7 separate regions of the Homo sapiens genome follow, and all the other regions are linked to region 2. Evidence: promoter capture Hi-C in 16 types of primary human blood cells and fetal thymus (Javierre and others, 2016). All regions are on one chromosome and are shown on one strand. Each heading gives the region's core, a stretch centred on a gene start or on the middle of the fragment in contact. The rest is flanking DNA. Distances are from core to core; before and after follow the strand shown. Region 1 has its middle 21 kb from the start of CKAP4. Region 2 holds the start of TMEM263-DT (TMEM263 divergent transcript). Region 3 has its middle 8.0 kb from the start of TCP11L2. Region 4 overlaps LOC124903008 (a long non-coding RNA gene). Region 5 has its middle 12 kb from the start of CKAP4. Region 6 overlaps PRDM4 (PR/SET domain 4). Region 7 has its middle 28 kb from the start of CKAP4.

Evidence for each region. Contacts are between HindIII fragments. The CHiCAGO score rates a contact against its expected background, and 5 or more counts as called.
Region 1: a fragment that was not itself captured here is called in contact with the fragment with the promoter of TMEM263-DT in region 2 in 1 of 17 cell types (naive CD8 T cells); the score reaches 5.1 in naive CD8 T cells.
Region 3: a fragment that was not itself captured here is called in contact with the fragment with the promoter of TMEM263-DT in region 2 in 11 of 17 cell types (fetal thymus, total CD8 T cells, naive B cells and 8 more); the score reaches 13.0 in fetal thymus.
Region 4: a contact is called between a fragment that was not itself captured here and the fragment with the promoter of TMEM263-DT in region 2, in 10 of 17 cell types (non-activated CD4 T cells, total CD8 T cells, activated CD4 T cells and 7 more). The highest score is 9.6, in non-activated CD4 T cells.
Region 5: a contact is called between a fragment that was not itself captured here and the fragment with the promoter of TMEM263-DT in region 2, in 9 of 17 cell types (non-activated CD4 T cells, naive CD8 T cells, naive B cells and 6 more). The highest score is 12.5, in non-activated CD4 T cells.
Region 6: a contact is called between a fragment that was not itself captured here and the fragment with the promoter of TMEM263-DT in region 2, in 3 of 17 cell types (activated CD4 T cells, naive CD4 T cells and total CD8 T cells). The highest score is 6.0, in activated CD4 T cells.
Region 7: a fragment that was not itself captured here is called in contact with the fragment with the promoter of TMEM263-DT in region 2 in 5 of 17 cell types (activated CD4 T cells, naive B cells, naive CD8 T cells and 2 more); the score reaches 6.5 in activated CD4 T cells.

What each region holds. Positions count from the first base shown.
Region 1 is chr12:106,268,014-106,270,713 of GRCh38, forward strand. No RefSeq gene overlaps it. Among named protein-coding and RNA genes, the nearest start is that of CKAP4, 21 kb to the left of the region's middle. The HindIII fragment of the contact is 4,949 bases long and covers 1-2,700 here.
Region 2 is chr12:106,954,148-106,956,847 of GRCh38, forward strand. It overlaps TMEM263-DT (TMEM263 divergent transcript), which reads right to left and starts at 1,348. Exons shown (of 1, transcript NR_185933.1): 1 at 1-1,348. It overlaps TMEM263 (transmembrane protein 263), which reads left to right and starts at 1,760. Exons shown (of 4, transcript NM_152261.4): 1 at 1,760-1,918. RefSeq lists a silencer at 1,388-2,147 and enhancers at 1,424-1,718, 2,648-2,700. The HindIII fragment of the contact is 6,686 bases long and covers 1-2,700 here.
Region 3 is chr12:106,293,212-106,296,179 of GRCh38, forward strand. No RefSeq gene overlaps it. Among named protein-coding and RNA genes, the nearest start is that of TCP11L2, 8.0 kb to the right of the region's middle. The HindIII fragment of the contact is 1,172 bases long and covers 713-1,884 here.
Region 4 is chr12:106,251,647-106,254,507 of GRCh38, forward strand. It overlaps LOC124903008 (a long non-coding RNA gene), which reads left to right. Exons shown (of 2, transcript XR_007063443.1): 2 at 1-1,141. Among named protein-coding and RNA genes, the nearest start is that of CKAP4, 5.1 kb to the left of the region's middle. The HindIII fragment of the contact is 1,939 bases long and covers 385-2,323 here.
Region 5 is chr12:106,234,576-106,237,553 of GRCh38, forward strand. No RefSeq gene overlaps it. Among named protein-coding and RNA genes, the nearest start is that of CKAP4, 12 kb to the right of the region's middle. The HindIII fragment of the contact is 739 bases long and covers 1,356-2,094 here.
Region 6 is chr12:107,754,773-107,757,472 of GRCh38, forward strand. PRDM4 (PR/SET domain 4) reads right to left here. Exons shown (of 12, transcript NM_012406.4): 3 at 2,060-2,193. All of the region lies in intron 3 of PRDM4-AS1 (PRDM4 antisense RNA 1), which reads left to right. Among named protein-coding and RNA genes, the nearest start is that of PRDM4, 5.0 kb to the right of the region's middle. The HindIII fragment of the contact is 2,346 bases long and covers 182-2,527 here.
Region 7 is chr12:106,218,430-106,221,398 of GRCh38, forward strand. No RefSeq gene overlaps it. Among named protein-coding and RNA genes, the nearest start is that of CKAP4, 28 kb to the right of the region's middle. The HindIII fragment of the contact is 8,757 bases long and covers 1-2,969 here.

The sequences.
Region 1 (2,700 bases), core at 114-2,613, 690 kb before region 2:
GAGAGACAGACAATAGTACATTAGTAAAAGTCAGCATGGCCGGGCGTGGTGGCTCACGCCTGTAATCCCAGCACTTTGGGAAGCTGACGGGGGTGGATCACCTGAGGGCAGGAGTTCGAGGCCAGCCTGGGCAACATGGTGAAAACCCTATCTCTACTAAAAATACTAAAATTAGCCAGGTGTGGTAGCATGCACCTGCAGTCCCAGCTACTCTACTAGGGAGGCTGAGGTAGGAGAATCGCTTGAACCCAGGAGGCAGAGGTTACAGTGAGCCAAGATTGTGCCACTGCACTCTGGAGATCATGGCACTGCACTCCAGCCTAGGCAACAGAGTGAGATTCCATCCATCTCAAAAAAAAAAAAAAAAAAGTTAAAGGCAGCATCCTAGATACAGTAGTACTAAGTGCTAAGAGGAAAAAGTGAAATGGAGAAATAGGAACAGAAAGGGTTTGGAATCGGGATAGGGGTTATAATTTTAGATTAAGTGGTCAGGACTTCACTGAGAAGGTGACATTGGAGGAAAGACCTGAAGGAGTGAGGAGCCAGCCAACCAAATACATGGAAGAAGAGCTTTCCAGGCAGAACAAAAGAGCAAATGCAAAGGCCCTGAGGTGCATCCAAGAAACAGAAAGGAGGCCAGGAGAGCTTGTGCAAGTAAACAATTCATTCAGCAAGTATTTATGTTGCCCTGTTTATTTATTAAATTAACAAATAAATTAGCACAATGCCCGGCAAGTAATCAGCTCTCAGGACATGTGATGTTATTATCAATGTCATTATCACTATTATCTCTGTATCTCTCCCATCACCACCACCATCACCCAGTACCCAGCACAAGACCTGCCACCTAGTAAGAGCCCAGAAGCTGCTTAGTAAACTGAATCTCATTGCCCTGTGTAGGCTGGTGTCCCTAACCATTAACACTTGGTTATCCTTTGAGGTTTAGCCGCATTGGAAACTATTTCTTTACATTGGACTTTTTGCTCTAAAAAATCATCAGGTCTTAAAGTGATACCAGAATTGTATATAAATGCAGTAGTATATTTCTTTGGTTTAATTCCTCTACCTTCAAAATGATAGAGAGTCTAGTGTTTGGATTCTGACTTCCAATCAGTCCCCTGGATCCCTTCATTGTATAGGTCCATGACCAGCAGGATCCCTTGAGGGAAGGGCAAGTGCACCAGGCCCAGCATCTCCATGGCTTTGGAGTATCACGCAGGACCCAGCAGCCAGAATGAGGAGCTTGCTGTTTAAAATGCAGATTCACCTCTGAAGGGATTCTGCCAAAAAGAGGGGTAGTTGACAGCGAGGGAACCAGAGCTCACCAGGAAACTTTCAACCACAGTGACACTGCAATAACTCAGTAGACTTATCTAGTATGCTTAAGTCCTCACTTATCACTGTTCATAGGTTCTTGGAAATTGCAACTTTAAGCAAAATGACATATAACAAAACCAATTTGACCATAGGCTAATTGATATAAACACGACTTAAGTTTCTACACCCTATTTCTGGCCACAAAAGTATCACCAAACAGGCCAGGCGTGGTGGCTTATCTGAGCCTGTAATCCCAGCAATTTGGGAGGCCAAGGCGGGCAGATTACCTGAGGTCAGGAGTTTGAGACCAGCCCAGCCAACATCATGAAGCCCCATCTCTACTGAAAATACAAAAATTAGCTGGATGTGTTAGCACACGCCTGTAGTTCCCGCTACTTGGGAAGCTAAGGTAGGAGAATTGCTTGAACCAGGGAGGCAGAGGTTGCAGTGAGCCGAGATCATGCCACTGCACTCCAGCCTGGGTGACAGAGCAAGACTCGGTCTCAAAAAAAAAAAAAAAAAGTGTCACCAAACTTCTAAAGACCAAAACACTTCTCATAGTAAACACTAAAATACCTGTGAGCTACACATACATTTAAGAAAGATTAATAAAAACAAGAAAGATAATTATTTACCCAATTATTCCAGTTCAAGGTTGTAGGTGGCAGAAGCCTCTCCCAGCAGCTCAGGGCACAAGACTGGAAACCACCCTGGACAGGATGCTGTTCCATCACAGGGCACACTCACACCCACACCGATGCCCACACTCACTCTTACTGGGACCATTGAGACATGCCAGTGAAACTGACTTGCACATCTTCGGGAGGAAACCAAAGTACCTGGAGAAAACCCACGCAGACATGGAGAGAGCCTGCAAACTCCATACAAACAGTGACCCGGCTGGGAATCCACTGTTTTTTTTCTCACCAACTTTATAACAATACTACATTGAATGAAAAGACGTTATTCAAGACCTGCTGTACATGAAAGAGATTGAGAGTCACTAAGGAACTTCCTTCTGAGCCTCTGCCAGCTAGGAGATTTCAAGTCTCTTAGAAAGGAAACTCCTTGGTGAGGTAACATAATCCTGTACTTTTCTCACAGTGAGGAAGTCAGTATTACTATCTAACTTAAGACCCTCTTGATTCAATAAGCCTAGGTCTCCTCGTTCTTTCTTCAAGTGAAAAAAGTGCCATCGGCAGGGCATGGTGGCTCATGCCTGTAATCCCAGCACTTTGGGAGGCTGAGGCGAGTGGATGACCTGAGGTCAGGAGTTCGAGACAAGCCTGGCCAACATGGTGAAACCCCGTCTCTACTAAAACTACAAAAAATTAGCCAGGCGTGGTGGTGGGAGCCTGTAATCCCAGCTACTGGGGAGGCTGA
Region 2 (2,700 bases), core at 98-2,597:
AGGGAAGAAGAAACAAGACGTAATTGTGCACTTCATAATTTTACCTAGAGTTCAACCTTGAAAGGTCACATATTAAGGATAGAAGTTTGTGTAATAACGAGAAAACAGAGGATATCCGTTTCTTCACATACTGGATAAACAACAATCCACGGATCCTGCTAATCATCCAACCCATATGTTGAATTGACAAGAGTATTTAATTTCCTCTTTCTGCTTTGAGAAACTAAATATCTTGACAGTCTGAGCACAGTGGCTTAAGTGGCCTTAATTCTCTGATTTCATAAGTTAATGATTAGGTTGAAGCTATAAACTATAGTCCATTCCATTTAAGACCTGGATCAAAGTTAGCTTCATCCAGCATGTTTTAGCACGTCCTTTCTGAGCTATGTTGTCAGTAGTTACCATTCAGTTCCACCATCCTGAATATTCTGCAGTTGATAAACCATTTTGTGAATTTTTTTTTTTTGCTTTCTGTGTATGTTTTTGACTCGCGTGTTTTTGCTTCGCTAATCAGATTGCGAAAGGAAACATCTCACGTTTGCATAGGACTTCACAGTTCATAAAGACCTTTCCCACCCACCACAAAAAAAGTATGACAAGTTTCCCGTCATCTTCATTTTATAGGTGTGGAAAGGGAGTCAAAGAAAAGTTAATCGATACCATTTATCTAGTTAAGCAGGCTTTGAGCAGTTCATCTCCTCCCGTCCTCAAAACGACCTTCTGAGGTGTCTCCTGCAACCCTGCTCTGAAGCTCAGAGCGAGACGGCCTCACATCCCAGGGGGCTCAGCTCTGGCGGGGCCGCCACGCGCCTCCCCGTGCCTTTGGACGGGTGAGGAGAGCTGCTGCCCCGGCGGGGACCACGTGGAGGGGCCTGGTCAGCAAGTGGCAAGGACGCGGCGCAAAGCCAGGCTTTCTAATGTACAATCCGCGGCTCTTTCGATACTGAACACCCACCTCTTCAACAAATTCGAGCGCCTGGCAGGCCCTGCACCAAGCCTAGGGTGATGGCGACCCAGGCGGGTTTTTACTCTCAAGGAGCTCAATTCTAGGGCAGGGAGAAGTAAAATTAAAAAAAAAAAAATCATAACAAACTGAAAAACACATAAATAAGCCACGTCTCTCCTCACCCCTAGCACTTAATCACAAAGGCCTGTAGAGAGTCCCGACGAGAACTTCTGAGCAGGCCCCGCTGTCAGTCCCTGAGGACAGCATGCAAGGGAGGTTGACGTCCCTGGACGAAGAAAGTGCTGGAGAAACTGGCGACCGTCCCACCTTCCCTAAGGCGAAGGCTCTGAATTCCGAAGACCGTTACTCGGCGCGGAACGCGGGCACCGCCGACGTCAAAACACCGGGCCTGGGGGCCGCGGCCTACGCGTCTCCCGGGCTTCGCGCCCCTCGCCCGATTTGATTGGATGGTGGCGGGAAGAAGGCGGGGAGACCCCCGGAGGAGGGGCGCGCAGGCCGGCCGGGGGTTCCCACGGAGGCGTCCAGGGGGCGAAGGGGCGGGAGCGGGCCTCGGAGCGTCGCGCGTGCGCAATTGGGACACAGCCGGCTGGGGACTGCTGGGAGGGCCGGACCCTGCGAGAACGGGTGGGCGTGTGCCCGGTGGGCGCGGGAGGGGCCCGGGCTGCACGAGCGCGCGTGCGCGTCGGAACTGGAGCCGCGGGAGGAGGCGGGAGCTGAGGAGGCGGCGGAGGGGGCGGGTCGCGTCGGGCGCCACGTCCGCAGCCAGAGGCCTCCGCCTCCACCACCGCCGCCACAGTCTTCCAGCTCCACATCCTGAGAGGACGCCTCTGGAGCCGCGACTGCCCGGGGTTGTGCCGGCCGCCGCTGCCGCCCAGGCCGCCTCAGCTCTCCTCTGCGCCGGCCCGCTCACTCCGCCCGGCCCCAGCCCTAGCGCTGGCCGCGACCCCGGCGGTGAGTGAGTCGGGATGCGAGGGCAGGGGCGCAGTCCCGGCTTCCTGCCCTCCTCCGTCGCCCTCTGCCGTCGGCGCCCCTGCCCCTCACCTCCCAGTGCCCGGCCTGGCTGCCCAGCGGGGCCTTGGCGAGGCCCCAGCGGGAAAGGGGGAGGGGCGGGACGAAGTTGGGGGCGGATGGAGGTTCGCTTCTGGGGCTACTCCTCCTTATACGTCGCTGACTGCCCCGCCGCGATTGGAGCTTGCGCACCCCTGGAAAGCCTCCGCCTGACTTCTTAGCATCTGGGGGTTCGGGGTTGGGGGCGGAGGAGGAAGGTGAGGGGCATCAGCAGCCTGGGAGAGGGATGCAGCGGAGGGGCTTGGGTACCGGGCTTCCTCGCCCTGCCAACTCCTGACCTGTTGCTAAACCTCCCTTTTGGGTTCAGGCACACAAGACTTTTTCCCAGTGGACACCCCCATAGCTCTTCCTGGGTAGGAAGGCTGTATCTCCACGCCTAACCTAAAGTAAAAGTGGGAATGGAGAGGGTGCTGGCCGCGCCCAGGGGTGACAGGGAGGGCTGGAGCACCCATCCGTGCCGTCACTGCCTCCCAGTCTAAATAAAAACTGCCTGCTCTGCACACGCAGCTTCAAGACCGACCCCCCAGCTCCCACTTCCAATCAGATCGCCTGTCCTAAACCCTTCTTACATAGAAATTCTGGAGCCCTTCGGGAGTGGGGGGAGTGCTGGGTGTACAACGTGGAGCGGAGGGAGGAGGTGCCAAGCTCAGTGCTAGCCACGGCGC
Region 3 (2,968 bases), core at 49-2,548, 660 kb before region 2:
CCACTCATTGCAATGCCCTCTACATCAAGCTTATGGTTCAGCTTTGGACTCCTGAAGAAATGGCGCAGAACCATCTATGTAGATTTAGAAAGTGAATTGAGTTCCTCACCTCATTTGGCAAGAATGGTGAATTTCCCACAGTTCGCAGGTACCTGTGGTTCCAAAGTGAGCTGCCGTTTTTGAAAATTATAAAAGCAACACTGAAGCAGTTTAAACCAATCCAGATTTTTAGCTAAGTAGTTCCAATTTTCTTCCTTATCAGTTAAGCTCATATCAGCCTTATTTTTCAACAATGAATTTGACCTAAATACTGATTTAGGGGCCTGAATCTGTTTTGTTGAGATCACTTGAGAACTTCTTGTACATGTATCTGCTTGGCTACTCCTTTCTCTAGGAAGCCTACCTGGGGGTCGTCAGTTCTGGATTACATGCTCCTTCTATGTGGCCCCTTGGATTGACTTCTATTTGTCAAGGTATAATTTTCAACAAATTGAAAACATGACTTATATGAAACAGAACAAACACGGGCTTAAAAAAATATTTATTTCATCAATTAAAGAGTTAGCCAGTAAAATGGTAAAGTTGGTTTAAGGAATATTTGAGAAATAGGGGTTTATATATCCCATCAAGAAATGCATTTTTAAAAATCTTACAATAAGATTACTAGGTTAGACACAAAATTGGTTAATGTCTTATAAGGTAATAAATAGTAAGCTTTTATCTTTTCTATAGAACAGAAAAGATTTTACTTGTATTAGAAATGGACAAGAATAATTTGCATTGTTATCAATTTTTTGGTGTTTTGTTTTGGGTTTTGGTTTTCGGTTTTTTGACATAGGGTCTCTGTCACCCAGGCTAAACTGAGGTGCCATGATGATAGCTCACTGTAGCCTCGAACTCCTGGGCTCAAGGGACTCTCCCACTTTAGCTTCCTGATTAGCTGGGACTACAGCCACATGCCACCCTGCCCAGCTAAGTTTTGTATTTTTTTTGTAGATACAGGATCTCTCTATGTCGCCCAGGCTGGTCGCCAACTCCTAGCCTCAAGCAACCTGTCCATCTTGGCCTCCCAAAGTGTTGGGATGACAGGCGTGAGCCACTACACTGGGCCCTTGTTATCAGTTTTTGATAAAGTAACATCTGCCTTTACAAAGTTCTGGAATATCTGAACCAATAACGAGTAGTAAGTCCAACAAAGGTACACAGTCCTAGATAATGCATGAATCCTTGTACGAGTCTGCTACTACACTGCACTACACAGCACCCTACTAAAAGGACATCCAGTAATCCCTTTTGCCTATTTCCAAGTCTTTGGATAACGTTTGGATAATTATCCAAGTTTTTGGATCATTGTTCTTAACACAATATAAAGTTATATTATTTTCCTGAATGGATCTGACTTACTGGCCTAATGAGTGGAGAATAGTAATCCTCACATTGATATATAAATACTGGGTGATGTGTTAGGCTCATTTGTGAGGTAAATAAATGGCTCCTGTACCACCAACTTATTAGATTCAAATTTGCTCCTTGGCAGAATTTTAAATTATCGCATGTCACAGACCTTTAAGTTGCCCAGGACCTGTCGAAACTGTAAATATTAAATCATTAAAATAACAAGAGTATAATAATAGTAGTTACAGTTTACTGATCCATACAATGTCGCTGGCACTCTGCTCAACTCTTCATATACATTATTTCTTTTAATTCTCCCACAGGTTATGGAGTATTTGTTCTAGTCAAAGTTCTTAGTGGCAAATAATACACCTTAGTCTGACTAGACCAGAAGGGTCTTCGTAGCTCATGGAACTGAGACCAGAGGGTCTTGGTAGCTCATGGAATTAGCTATCGAGTGACTCTAACATATTTTAGACTGAAGAACCAAGCTTGGGAAAGAACTAAAGGAAGCCAGGCATAGCTAAGAACATGCTAAGGATGCCATAGCTGGTGTCATCAGCATTGGGCACCACCACTGTAGCTCTGTGAATCACCCCTATCTACCTGTGGTGGTCAGCATCTGACAGAACATGCGTAGGTCCCATGCCCATGCTACAGCCACCAGGGTCTGGGAAGACAGAATGCCTTTCCAGCTCCAGTAGTAAAGTATTAATGGGATTAGCATATCATCCCCTCTCTGGCTTCTATAATAAATGATAACAATTCAAATACCATTCGGAAAGCTGGATCACCAAAATGACAAATGGCCCCCACAACATTATTATCCCCATTTTATACCTGTGAGGATAAGGACATATGTATAATGAGTGGTGGAACTTGGCTGTCAACCCTCTGGTCTGTCTGAACCCAAAGCCCACCCTCTTTCCACCATACCACATTTCCTCATTATATACAATTATTTTGTACCTCAGTTGATTAATTCTTTGAAAATTTTGATCTACGTAATGCTTGTAACTTTTAAAAAGTCATTTTTTTAAACGTCCACATATCATCACAGAGGTCTTCCTTTAAATAAAGAATTCAGCTTCAGCATTAAAATTAAATTTATTTGTATAATTATGTTACACCGAGCATTTTTTTTTTTTTAGACTGAGTTTCACTCTGCCACCCAGGCAAAAGTGTAGTGGCGTGATCTTGGCTCACTGCAGCCTCTGCCTCCTGGGTTCAAGTGATTCTCCTGCCTCAGCCTCCCAAATAGCTGGGACTACAGGAGTGCGCCACCACGCCCAGCTAATTTTTTGTATTTTTAATAGAGACGGGGTTTCACCATGCTGACCAGGCTGGTCTTGAACTCCTGACCTCAGTTGATCCGCCCACCTCGGCCTCCCAAAATGCTGGGATTACAGGAATGAGCCACTGCGCCCAGCCTATACTGAGCTTTGTGGGAATTTACTGATAATATACATGCAGATGTACATGTAACATAAACAATGGCATGGCTTGGGATCCCTCTGAGGGAATTGGCCAGAAATGTTTCGTGTGTGCATGTGTGCGGGTGAATATATATCTA
Region 4 (2,861 bases), core at 104-2,603, 700 kb before region 2:
TAGGATGTGTTTAACGTTAAAAGCAAGCAGTGTGTTTCTCTGAAGTGTGGCTCCACCATGGTGTTCGGTTACACCCAGAGGAGGAGGCTGGTGGGCAGTCATAGAAGTGCATCTTCCAGAGCAGGAAGGGATCAACAGCTCTTCCTGGAGACTTCCATTCTCCTACCCCAGTTTCTGAGCACAGCATGAATCTAGAGGAGTTTCTCTTCTGCTTTTCCTCCTAGTTTTGTTTCCTCTATCCCTTTTCCTTGCTAAAGTGTGTTGGATGGTCAGGAATGTGGGCGGAGAAGAGGGGGAGCTGGAGACATCTCATCCTTTCATCCAGCTTGTGTAAAAATGCCTCAGAACTCCCTCATACCACATGCACCATAAATTATAAGGTCAAGCTTTGTAAGCCTGCAGCCCTCTTGGCTTTTTGCATGTTGGTTAGAATGCCTAAATAGAAAGCCTCTGTTAATGTTGATTGCCTCTTGTCTGTTCCAGGTTGGCAAGGCCCCCAGTGGCCAAGGCATGAGCCTGGATGCCCTGCAAATTGAGTACGTGTTAGGGATGGGGGCCATTCTTTATAGTTTGACTCTGGAGAGCTAGGACCACCTTTCCCAGCCTCAGGGGTGCACATCCTCAGGAGCTGCCTACCTCCAGATATTGTAAGTCCATGCAGAAGAGGAAGGGCCCAGCTGGGGCACCTCTTGGTTGAGGAATGAGTATGTGACATTTTCATGTGGGCACATTTTGATACTACTTTAAAAATAGACCAAGCACAGTGGCTCACACCTGTAATTCCAGCACTTCGGGACGCTGAGAGAGGTGGATCACCTGAGGTCAGGAGTTCGAGATCAGCCTGGCCAACATGGAGAAACCCCGCCTCTACTAAAAATACAAAACATTAGCTGGGTGTGGTGGCACACACCTGTAATTCCAGCTACTCGGGAGGCAGAAGCAGGAGAATCGCTTGAATCCAGGAGGCGGAGGTTGCAGTAAGCCGAGATCACGCCACTACACTCCAGCTTACACTGGACATGATGAGGAGGAGGAGGATGATGGTGGTGATTATGATAGAAATGGTGATGGTGATGATGACAATGGTGATAGTAGGGATGGTCTTGCTCTGTCGCAATCAATAAATGAATGCATAAACACATTTCTACTTGTTTTTGCAGTCCTAAGATAAGTGCTCAGTAGCATCCCTGCCCTTCTAATGTGAACTTGAGGGATGGGTAAGACCCAGAGATGGCATGGGGGACGGGATAAGGAAGGCCTACTGTTCATATTGTGAACATGAAATGGTTTTACATTTTGATGCCACTTCATTAAATTGACTGTATGATATGAGCTAACGCTACACCCTCCTTTAAATTTTGGCTAACACATCCATATCCTCAGGTGGTATCAGTTGATAATGCCCATGAAAATATTTTGTAAACTACAGGGTGCTAAACAATTATTTACTTGTATCCCTTTCTGTGGGGCACAGTTTGATGCTATACACAAAGCAGTGAAGTCTCGACAAGAATGATGACCACTACAATGAGCACAAAATAAAGTCTTTTTGGGGTTTTTTGTTTTTTGTTTTCTTTTTGGAGACAGGGTCTCGCTCTGTCACCCAGGCTGGAGTGCAATGGCACGATCTCAGCTCACTGCAACCTCTGCCTTCTGGGTTCAAGTGATTCTCCTGCCTCAGCCTCCTGAGTAGCTGAGATTACAGGCCTGTGCCACCACACCCGGCTCAATTTTTTGTATTTTTAATAGAGATGGGGTTACACCATGTTAGCCAGGCTGGTCTTGAACTCCTGGCCTCATGTGATCCTCCTGCATCAGCCTTCCAAAGTGCTGGCATTACAGGCGTGAGCAACTGCTCCCGGCACAAAATAAAAGCCTAATAAAATAATATTAAAATTAATAGCAAACTTTTGTTGGGTCTTGCTTATGTGTGGTCATTGTACTAAGCACTCTGCATATATTTTTTATTTTTTATTTCCATAGGTTTTTGGGTAACAGGTGGTGTTTGGTTATCACTAAGTTCTTTAGTGGTGATTTCTGAGATTGTGGTGCACCCATTATATCTTTTAAACTTCACAACAACCCTATGAAGGACTTACTCTTCTCCACGTTTTACAGATGATAAAACAGAAGAGAAGCATAGAACAGTTAAGAAACCTGTCCTAGTTCCTGCAGCTATTAAGTGATAGAACCAGGATTTGAACCCAGGTGGACTGACCAGAGCCCGTGCTGTTAGGCACCATTTAGCTGCTTACAATCCTAGCAGGCCCAGCCAGTGCTGAAATGGGTAAATAGTGATCACTGGGTGGCTAAGGATGGAGAAAGCTTCGCACCCAGAGTTGGAATGGAAATCAGACATCTCAGTCCGAGGTGCCTTAACAGTCACTGAAGCTCATTCATTTTCAAGTTAATGAGTTCGAATTTCACTCACCAACCAAAACTTCACTGGCCAGAGGGATCTGGGGCCTCCTCCAGCTGGCATGAGTGATGTTAAATTTGGTGGTCTGGAAGGTGAGTGGCCTCCAGTGTTCTCTCTGGAGGAAGGGAAGCCTTCCTGTGCACAAGTTTCACTCCTGTAGAAAAGAGGGACCTTGTTTAGTTTGAGTGGGAGCCATCAGTATAACCCTTGATGGTCAATGGTAAAGCCCTTGCAGCTGAGAGGTTGGTTGGAACCTGGGTCTAAGGAAGCCAAGACCAGAGTTTCTGTGAACTTGGCTTTGTTATAGGGTTATATTCTGTAGAATCAGGGAGAGCTAGTTCAAATCTTGGTTCTTGCCACTTACGTGACCTTGAGCAAAATACTTCACCTTAGTGAGTCCCAGTTGTTATGGAAGATAACCATAGTACCTACTTTACAGGCA
Region 5 (2,978 bases), core at 475-2,974, 720 kb before region 2:
TTTTCTCCTTCCTCTCTGATCATTTTTTCATGGGTTCCTTTCTTTCACATCTCCTTTAAATTATCTAAGCAATCCTATCCACTTCCTTAATTTCATAGTAAGTATGGATGAGTAATTCTGAAAGCAGGCCTCTCAACCGAGCTCCAGACCTGGCCAGCCCATGGGCTCTGTTTGTACAGGCAACGTGAGCGCAAGTCACCTTCTTATATCCTCTCCCAATCTGGGAGGGCTGTTGTCTTAGAGGCCTCTCCCTTCCTCACCCCACATGCATTCAGCAGCATCTAACCTGGCACATCTCTGACATCCATCTACAACCCTCATCCTCAGGGCACATCGGACCCAGCCTGGACCACGACTTCCCAATGTCCACCTGCCCTCCCCTTGCTCTCCTCCAATCCTGCCAATGCGGGGGCACTCTAGAACCCAGTTCTGACCATGGTTACTTCCCCTGCCCCACTTAAACCCTTTTGTTTATTCCTCATAGTTCAGATCCAAACTCTCAGGGATGACATGCAAGGCCTCCAGGTCCTGGCCCCATTAGCCCTCCTACCCCATCTCCACCCGACTCCCCACCTGTGCTTTCTCTATTCCAACTGCAAGAACTGTGCTCAGCCTCTCAACTCTCCTGACTACTTCAAACCCAGTACCTTTTGCCTGGTACCTGACAACCCTACCTATCTTTTAGAACTGGGTTCAAGTTTTACCACCTCATTATATAGTCACTTCTTTGAAACAAATCTTACCCACACACAAATTATTGAGCTCACAAGGAAGGATAACTTCAAAATATTTAATCTGATGGGCACCCACCCATCAGAACAAATGCAGGCCCTGGGGCTGGAGCAGAGTCTTGTGGTCTCTGCTATACTAGAATATTAACCTATTAGTTGCTGGATTGTAAAGAGGTATAGTGGTCCAGAGAGAGGACATGCAGGGGGTTCAGGGCAGAAGCTATTCACCAACTAGGACAACAGTATTTCAACATTTTAACCTCTGGTATGATCCATGCACGCATGATCACTGAAGCACTTATGATGTGCCAGATTCTGTGCTAACCCCTCAACACGCTCATTCAGTCCTGACAACCACCCTGTACCATCACATCATCTTCATCACCACCATCATCATCTCCATCTCCACCATCATCTCTATTATCAACACCATCACCATTCTAAGTGACTTGCCCAAGGCCACATGGTCAGTGGTGTAGTAGTCTCCTCACCAGGGTGCTGTCAGTCCTGCCTGAGAAGTTTCACTGCAGCCTCTTATCCTGGTGCTGGATCTGCAATTTAACCAACATGTTCAGTAATTTGTGTATATTGTTTGTTCAAAGGGCAAAACAACCTGTTTCCCGAAGCTTCCCATTACTCATGAAAGCATTCCAAGGGACTTCCCCCAGCCCTTCAAAAACCTGTTCTAACCACCTCTAGACCAACCATGGCACAATGGTCACTCCTTCCTCTTGGCCCAATACACCCAAGTATGGCACCTGTATTTCTAATACCTACCACTTTACATGACTGTCATTCCCACTGGGCTAGTCCTGTACATTTTAATTCACTGATACTTAGCAAAATGGCTGGCTATCAGCCCAATAAATGTTTATTGAATGAATGAACACTATATTGAATGAAGAAACAAGACTGAGCTGCATTATTTGGTGTAAGAACTCTAACTGCCCCACCATCAGAAATATGTGAATTCCTAATATATTCCTTTTATTTTCACCACTTGAATTTATATTTATCAGACACTTGTCAATATTTTCTTTTATAATATTAATGAGAATCTATTAAACCACTCCATAGTCAGAGATGAGCAACTGCAGAAATGACAGGAGAAACAGCAAGAACATACTCAATGCAACCAATTGGCCTGAAAAGGAAATGAATTTAATTTTTTCCATGCCTGCGACTTTATGCTGTTCCGCACCCTCCCCAAGTGGGTGAAAGTAGCCATTTAAAGCATACATGTCAATACTTAAGACTTTAAAATAAAAAGTAAAATGGTTTTGAAATAAAAATAGAAATTATTTACAGAGCCTGTCCTGATTTGCTAACTGCTTTGGAAAAAACTTCCAGCTCTGAGTTGTGAAGCTTTGAGGGACCCAGAGTGACTGACAGCAATTCAGAGATGAGGGGCCTTTCAGCCAGAAAGGGGGACATCAAGCCACAGGACCTCAGGTCCTAGCCACCCTCTACTCCCTAGGTGGGAAAGAAGAAATCTCTTGCAGCCTTGGGCTCTGGAACAGGACAGATATTCCACAGGCCAAATGGACCTGCACTGGTGTCAGTGGACGGTAGAGGATGCTGTCCCAGTTAGAGCAAGGATGAGGTCCAAAGCTTAGCCCTGCCACTTCGTAATGAATGACCTTGTATGAAGCTTCTCAGCCTGCTGTTCCTCTGTGAAATGGGAAATGATACTGCCTACCTCGGGGGACTGTAAGAAGGAATAACAGGTTATTATGCATGCTGAGCACAAGACCTGGCACACAGGTACTCAATAAACAGCATGTGGTTTTTATTGGGTGGAGGGTGGAAGGCAATCCAGAGAAGGAAACAAGCCCAGGTGTGCACTAGGGCTGAAGGTCACTCAGATGGTCTGAGACACTGGTTCTCAACCCTGACTGGACATTAAAATCAGAGAGGGAGCCTTTAAAATACCAGTGCTGGCCAGGCATGGCGGCTCACACCTGTAATCCCAGCACTTTGGGAGGTCGAGGCGGGCAGATCACGAGGTCAGGAGATTGAGACCATCCTGGCTAATACGGTGAAACCCTGTCTCTACTAAAAATACAAAAAATTAGCCGGGCGTGGTGGCAAGCGCCTGTAGTCCCAGCTACCCAGGAGGCTGAGGCAAGAGAATGGCCAGAACCCGGGAGGCGGAGCTTGCAGTGAGCCAAGATCCTGCTACTGCACTCCAGCCTGGGTGACAGAGCGAGACTCTGTCTCAAAAAAAAAAAAAAAAAAAACAGTGCC
Region 6 (2,700 bases), core at 105-2,604, 800 kb after region 2:
CCTAGGTAGTGATAGTATGAAATTTTTTTGGTATTTTTAAACTTTATTGTATTTACCATTTTATATGGTGAGAATATTTCATTTCTACCTGGAAAACAACGTAGTTTAGTTAGATGTAAAACTGTACATGTACACCTTCATACAATCTTTTGTATATATGCTACACTTAGTGATTAATAAAAGCTTTAAACGTGAGATTATATCTACTTTGAGTTATATGTACTTGCAAAGTGAAGTGACTTTTACTGGGCTAAGTATCATAATAAATACCCACCAACTTGGTCAGTGCTGATTTGCATATTTTTGCCAGGGGCAATATTTTTTTTTTTTGAGACAAGGTTTTGCTATGTTGCCCAGGTTGGAGCGTAGTAGCATGACCATGGCTCAGGCAACCTGAGCTTTCCTGGCTCAAGTGGCCATCCCTTCTCAGCCTCCTATGTAGCTCCTACGTAGCTGGGACTACGGGTGTGTGCCACCATGCGCTGCTAATTTTTTTTTTTTTCTTTGTAGAGATGGGGTCTCCTTATGTTACCTAGGCTGATCTTGAACTCCTGGGCTCAAGTGATCCTCCTGCCTTGGCCTCTCAAAATGCTGGGATTATAGGCGTGAGCCACTGTGCCTGGCTGGCAATATTTTTTAACAGGCTTTTCCACCTTAACAAGAGTGTCCACTAAAGGGAATGCCTACAAACAATCAAGTGGGTTAACCACTAATAATTTTTTAAGATTTCTTTTGTGGACACTTAAACAAATGTGAAGAGACCCTAGTTTCAATGAATCTTATTTAACTGCTGCATTTTATTAATTAAGCAAGTAATTCTCTTTAGAGAACTATTTAAACAATATATAGATTTATTTATACTAACTCCTACTGTGACAAAGAAAGTCCAATACATAACAATGTCATTGATCCTAAAGAACTGACAGCTTATCATTGTAATAATCAATAGAATATTTATTCCATTTATATTCTATTTCAATAGAATAAGAAAATGAAGCTAGGCAGAAAAAAGGTTTTAAAAGTACAGTGACGGCTGGCGCGGTGGCTCACACCTAAAATCCCAGCACTCTGGGAGGCCGAGGAGGGCGGATCACCTGAGGGCAGGAGTTCGAGACCAGCCTGGCTAATATGGTGAAACCCCGTTTCTACTAAAAATACAAAAAATTAGTTGAGCATGGTGGCGTGTGCCTGTAGTCTCAGCTACTCGGGATGCTGAGGCAGGAGAATTGCTTGAACCCGGGAGGCGGGCGGAGGTTGCAGTGAGCCGAGATCGTGCCATTGCACTCCACCTTGGTCGACAAGAGCGAAACTCCATCTCAAAAAAGAAAAAAAAGAAAATGAGCCAGGTGTAGGGGTGCATGCCTATAATCCTAGCTACTCAGGAGGCTGAAGCAGGAGAATCACTTGAACCCGGGAGGCGGAGGTTGCAGTGAGCCGAGATCGTGCCCCTGCACTCCAGCCTGGATGACAGAGTGAGACTCCATTTCAAAAAAAAAAGGATAGGAAGAATGAATTTTTCCTATACGATTTTGCTGTGTATGGAGGCTCATGAGGCGTTCCATGTAAAAGCCCCAGGTAAAAGTACCACACTTCTTTCCACATTAATTCTAGACCTGGTACACTTGCAGTTATTGCCATTTAATTTCAAACCTGGTGGAATATAAAGCCCAATTCCCCATGCTCTCTGGGAATAGTTATTAGAGTAATTTTAACTGATTCTCTTCTATTAACCCAGGGAACGGGTACTGAAGTGTGAACCAGATGAATGGGCAGCCCTAAATAAAATGCCAAGTTAATTACAGCTCTGGACAAAAAGCTACCAACTCAGAAGAGGACTATCAGAAAAAATTGCTGCTACTATCCACTAGAATTCTAATACTCTACCTCTACAAAAACCTTATTTTCCATTACCTATCACATGTTGAACCACCATTCAGGCCTGCTTACCTTCTCCCTTCTACCTTCTACCCTTAAAGGGGCTCTGATCTCTTCTAGACTCCATTTAGAATTGATAACAGAGTTAAGTGTTGAAATGCAGTAGGTCTCCCTTACCACTCACCTGGGGCAGGGATGGCACTGTGAGTGGGTGAGGCAGCCAATCCCAGGTGACTTCCTGAGACTGGCAAGGCATTGCTCACAGAGGATGAAGTCAGCTGCTCCATCCCCACTGGACTCAGGTTCATTTCATTCATCCTAGAAAAGAGCACACACAACTAGTTATGCAAAAATTTACTCCAATGACTCTGTATTAAGATACTGAAGAAACTGAAACAGTGGGGATGGGGAAATGGGACTTGGCCAACTATTAGTTCACTTTTACGCTCAACAATTCTCTTAGATAGCTAGTGCCATATTCTTTCTACTGATAAGAAAACTGAGATTGAGACATTAAAAACTCAATTCAATGTCACATAGCAGAAATAGGATTTGAATTCTGCCTTGTTCGAAACTCTAGGCACACCATCTAAAGCAAAGTCTGCAATTCTTAGAGCACAATGGCAATGACAGTTTTTTTTTAAATCACTCAAGCTTCATCTTTTATAATATTTATTTTTCTCCAAATGGCTTATTATTTCAAACCAGTAGTGTTTTAGGCAGCGCATTTTAACCTACTCAAGTAAATTTTACTAATCATTTTTAATAGGAGTTAAAGATCCAGATTATCGATGATGTGAAAAGCATCGTATTTTCCCCATTCAG
Region 7 (2,969 bases), core at 143-2,642, 740 kb before region 2:
CAGTTTTTGTATTATTATAAATATTCTCGAACTTTGTTCTTGGACAGTGTGAAGTTACCCGGAGACAGTATGATGTTTTCAAGTCTTGCTGTTAAACTTTATTGAGCAGGACCAGAGCAGTTTTGTTTGAGGCTAATTTTCCCTACATCTGAGTCCTCTGCCTAATGTACTGTGAAGTATGAGGTTTTGAGGTTTTCACTTTTACTGGTGGGAACAGAATCCTAACCCTATGTGAGCTCTGAGAATTATGGCCTTTCGTTCTTTGTTTGTTTGTTTGTTTGTTTTTGAGATAGAGTTTCACTCTATCACCCAGGCTGGAGTGCAGCAGTGCGATCTTGGCTCACTGCAACCTCTGCCTCCCGCATTCAGGTGATTCTCTTGCCTCAGCCTCTCGAGTAGCTGGGATTACAGGTGCATGCCATCATGCCTGGCTAATTTTTGTATTTTTAGTAGAGACAGGGTCTCACCATGTTGGCCAGGCTGGTCTTGAACTCCTCACTTCAAGTGATCTGCCCACCTCAGCCTCCCAAAGTGCTGGGATTACAGGCGTGAGCCACTGCGCCCAGACTCTCATCCTTTTAAGTCATTCTTTCTCCAGCCTTGGATAGTTTTCTAAAACACATGTGCTGATGGGTACTCTATTGAAGATTGGAGGGAGACCATCTGCAGATCTCAGAGTTCTATCTCCTCTGCAGTTCTCTGTCCTGTAACCTCTAGCCATGTTGGCCTCACCAGGCTCCTGGCTTTGCCTCTTCAACTCAGGGAGACTGCCAGAATCCACCTGGGATCTCCCTCCCTGCACCACAGCCTGGGTTGCCCAACTCTCCTCAGTTGGGCAACATATTCCTCTCCAGGCAACAAGCTAGGGCAGCTATAGCACTCATTTCATTTGCTTCTCTTCTCTCAAAGATCGCTGTCCTTCATTGCCTAGTGATCAGTATCTTGAGAATCATTGTTTCATATATTTGATCCAATTTCTTACTTTTTTCAGAAGAGTGGGTAAATCCCCTGCTGTTATTCCACCTTGGCCAGAAGTAGAAGTCAAAATATGAGTTTTTCATTTATTTTCTTAGGGAATTTTCTGGCATACACTCGTCTGTGTTACATATATATAATGTATATATATGTATATATACACACACAAATCTTTACTGGGTGCTTGCTATGTGCAAGGCACTATAGTAGTGCTGGGGATAGAGCTCTCATCAAGACAGACACAACTTACAGCCTAGTAGATGAACTAGGCAAACACGTAACTATATAATTACCACAGTTCATCAAATCTAAGATGCCATTGCTCATAAATTGCACCATTAGTTTATATGCCACTAAAAAAAACACTACCAATGATACTTCTGAGATGCCTTCAATTATAAGATGCATCCCAACTTCAGAGATGTTAGGTGTTTAGAAACATATACACATATCAGAAAGTCAAGGAAATATAGTAATAATTAATTGCAATTTTGATGAGAGCTGAGATAGAGAAATCCAGAATGCCAGCAGGCCACGTATTAGAAAAACCTGACTTAGCCTGGAGAGGCAAGGAAGCCTTATTCACATGCAGCATTTCAGCTGAGATCAAAAAGATGACCTGGTGTTAGCCAAGTGAAGGTGGGTAATAGGAAGGGCATTCTAGGCAGAGGGACTAGGTTGTGCCAAGATGCCAAGGTGGTAAGCAGTTTTGCATTGGTGGGGAACTGAAAGTGCTTCTAGTGAAAACTGAGGGACTGCAATGTGATTTTTAACTTTACCGTCAGAGCAACACAAGCCAGACTGTAAACAAAGGAATGATACACAGTCGTGTATCACTTAACAATGGAGACAAATCCTGAGAAATGTGATGTGTGGTTAGGTGATTTTGTCATTGTGAGAATATCACAGAGTTCATACACAAACCTAGACAGCATAGCCTACTACACACCCAGGCTATATGTTATGGCCCATTGCTCCTAGACTGCAACCTATACAGCATGGGACTGTCCTGAATACTGTAGGCAATTGTAACAGAATGGGAAGTATTTCTGTATCAACATATGTAAACATAGAAAAGGGACAGTAAAAATATGGTATTATAATCCTGCAGGATCAACATCGTATATGCAGTTCATCACAGACTGAAATGTCATTAAGTGGCAAATGACCGTAAGTAAATTTGTCCTGTTGAAACATCACTCCGGCTTCTGTGTGACGGGTGGACTGGGAGAAGCACAGACACTGGTTAAGAGGCAATTACGAGAGTCTGGGAAAGACAGAATGATGGTTTGGACAAGAGTCATGGCAGTGGAAATCAGGAAAAGTTCCCGGGAGATATTTATAGAGATGCATCAATACGATGACCAGCTGTGGACACTAAGGGAGAGGGAGGCACAAGGACTCATGCTTCTGACATGAGAAATTAGATAGATGGAAAAGCCATTTACTCCGATATGGTTCAATGGAGAAGGAGGAGGTTTCAGAGGAGTGGTCAATGAGCTCATTTGGAGCACAGTGAATGTAATAAGTTTGTACCACTCATGGGTTTTTGTTGCAATCAACACAAAACACTCCTGAACATTTGCCACCTCAACCCTGAATGCTCAGTTTCTTCAGTTTCAGTGTAAATAATTCTTTTTTTTTTGGAGACTCAAGTATAGTTTTATTATCTTTCTACATAGAAAACCTAGTTTTAGGGTACATGTGCACCTATGTGCCACAAAGATTCAGAGCTCTAGTCTGAGAGTATGTAATTGGCTAAGAACTAGAAGAGATAACATCTGTGCCCCCTCCCTAAAATAGAAAGGGTGTTTTAATGATGGAGAGTCCACTGAAAGATCTTTAAGCAAGCCTTGGAAGGATATCCAGTGGCTCACGACCAAGCCCTTAGGACTGGTGGAGGAAAAGAAGCCTGCACAGCTCCCAAGAGGAAGTGGTCATCAGAAAGGCCAGAGATTCAGGTGCTTAAATTATTCAGGCAGGAGGTAGGCAAA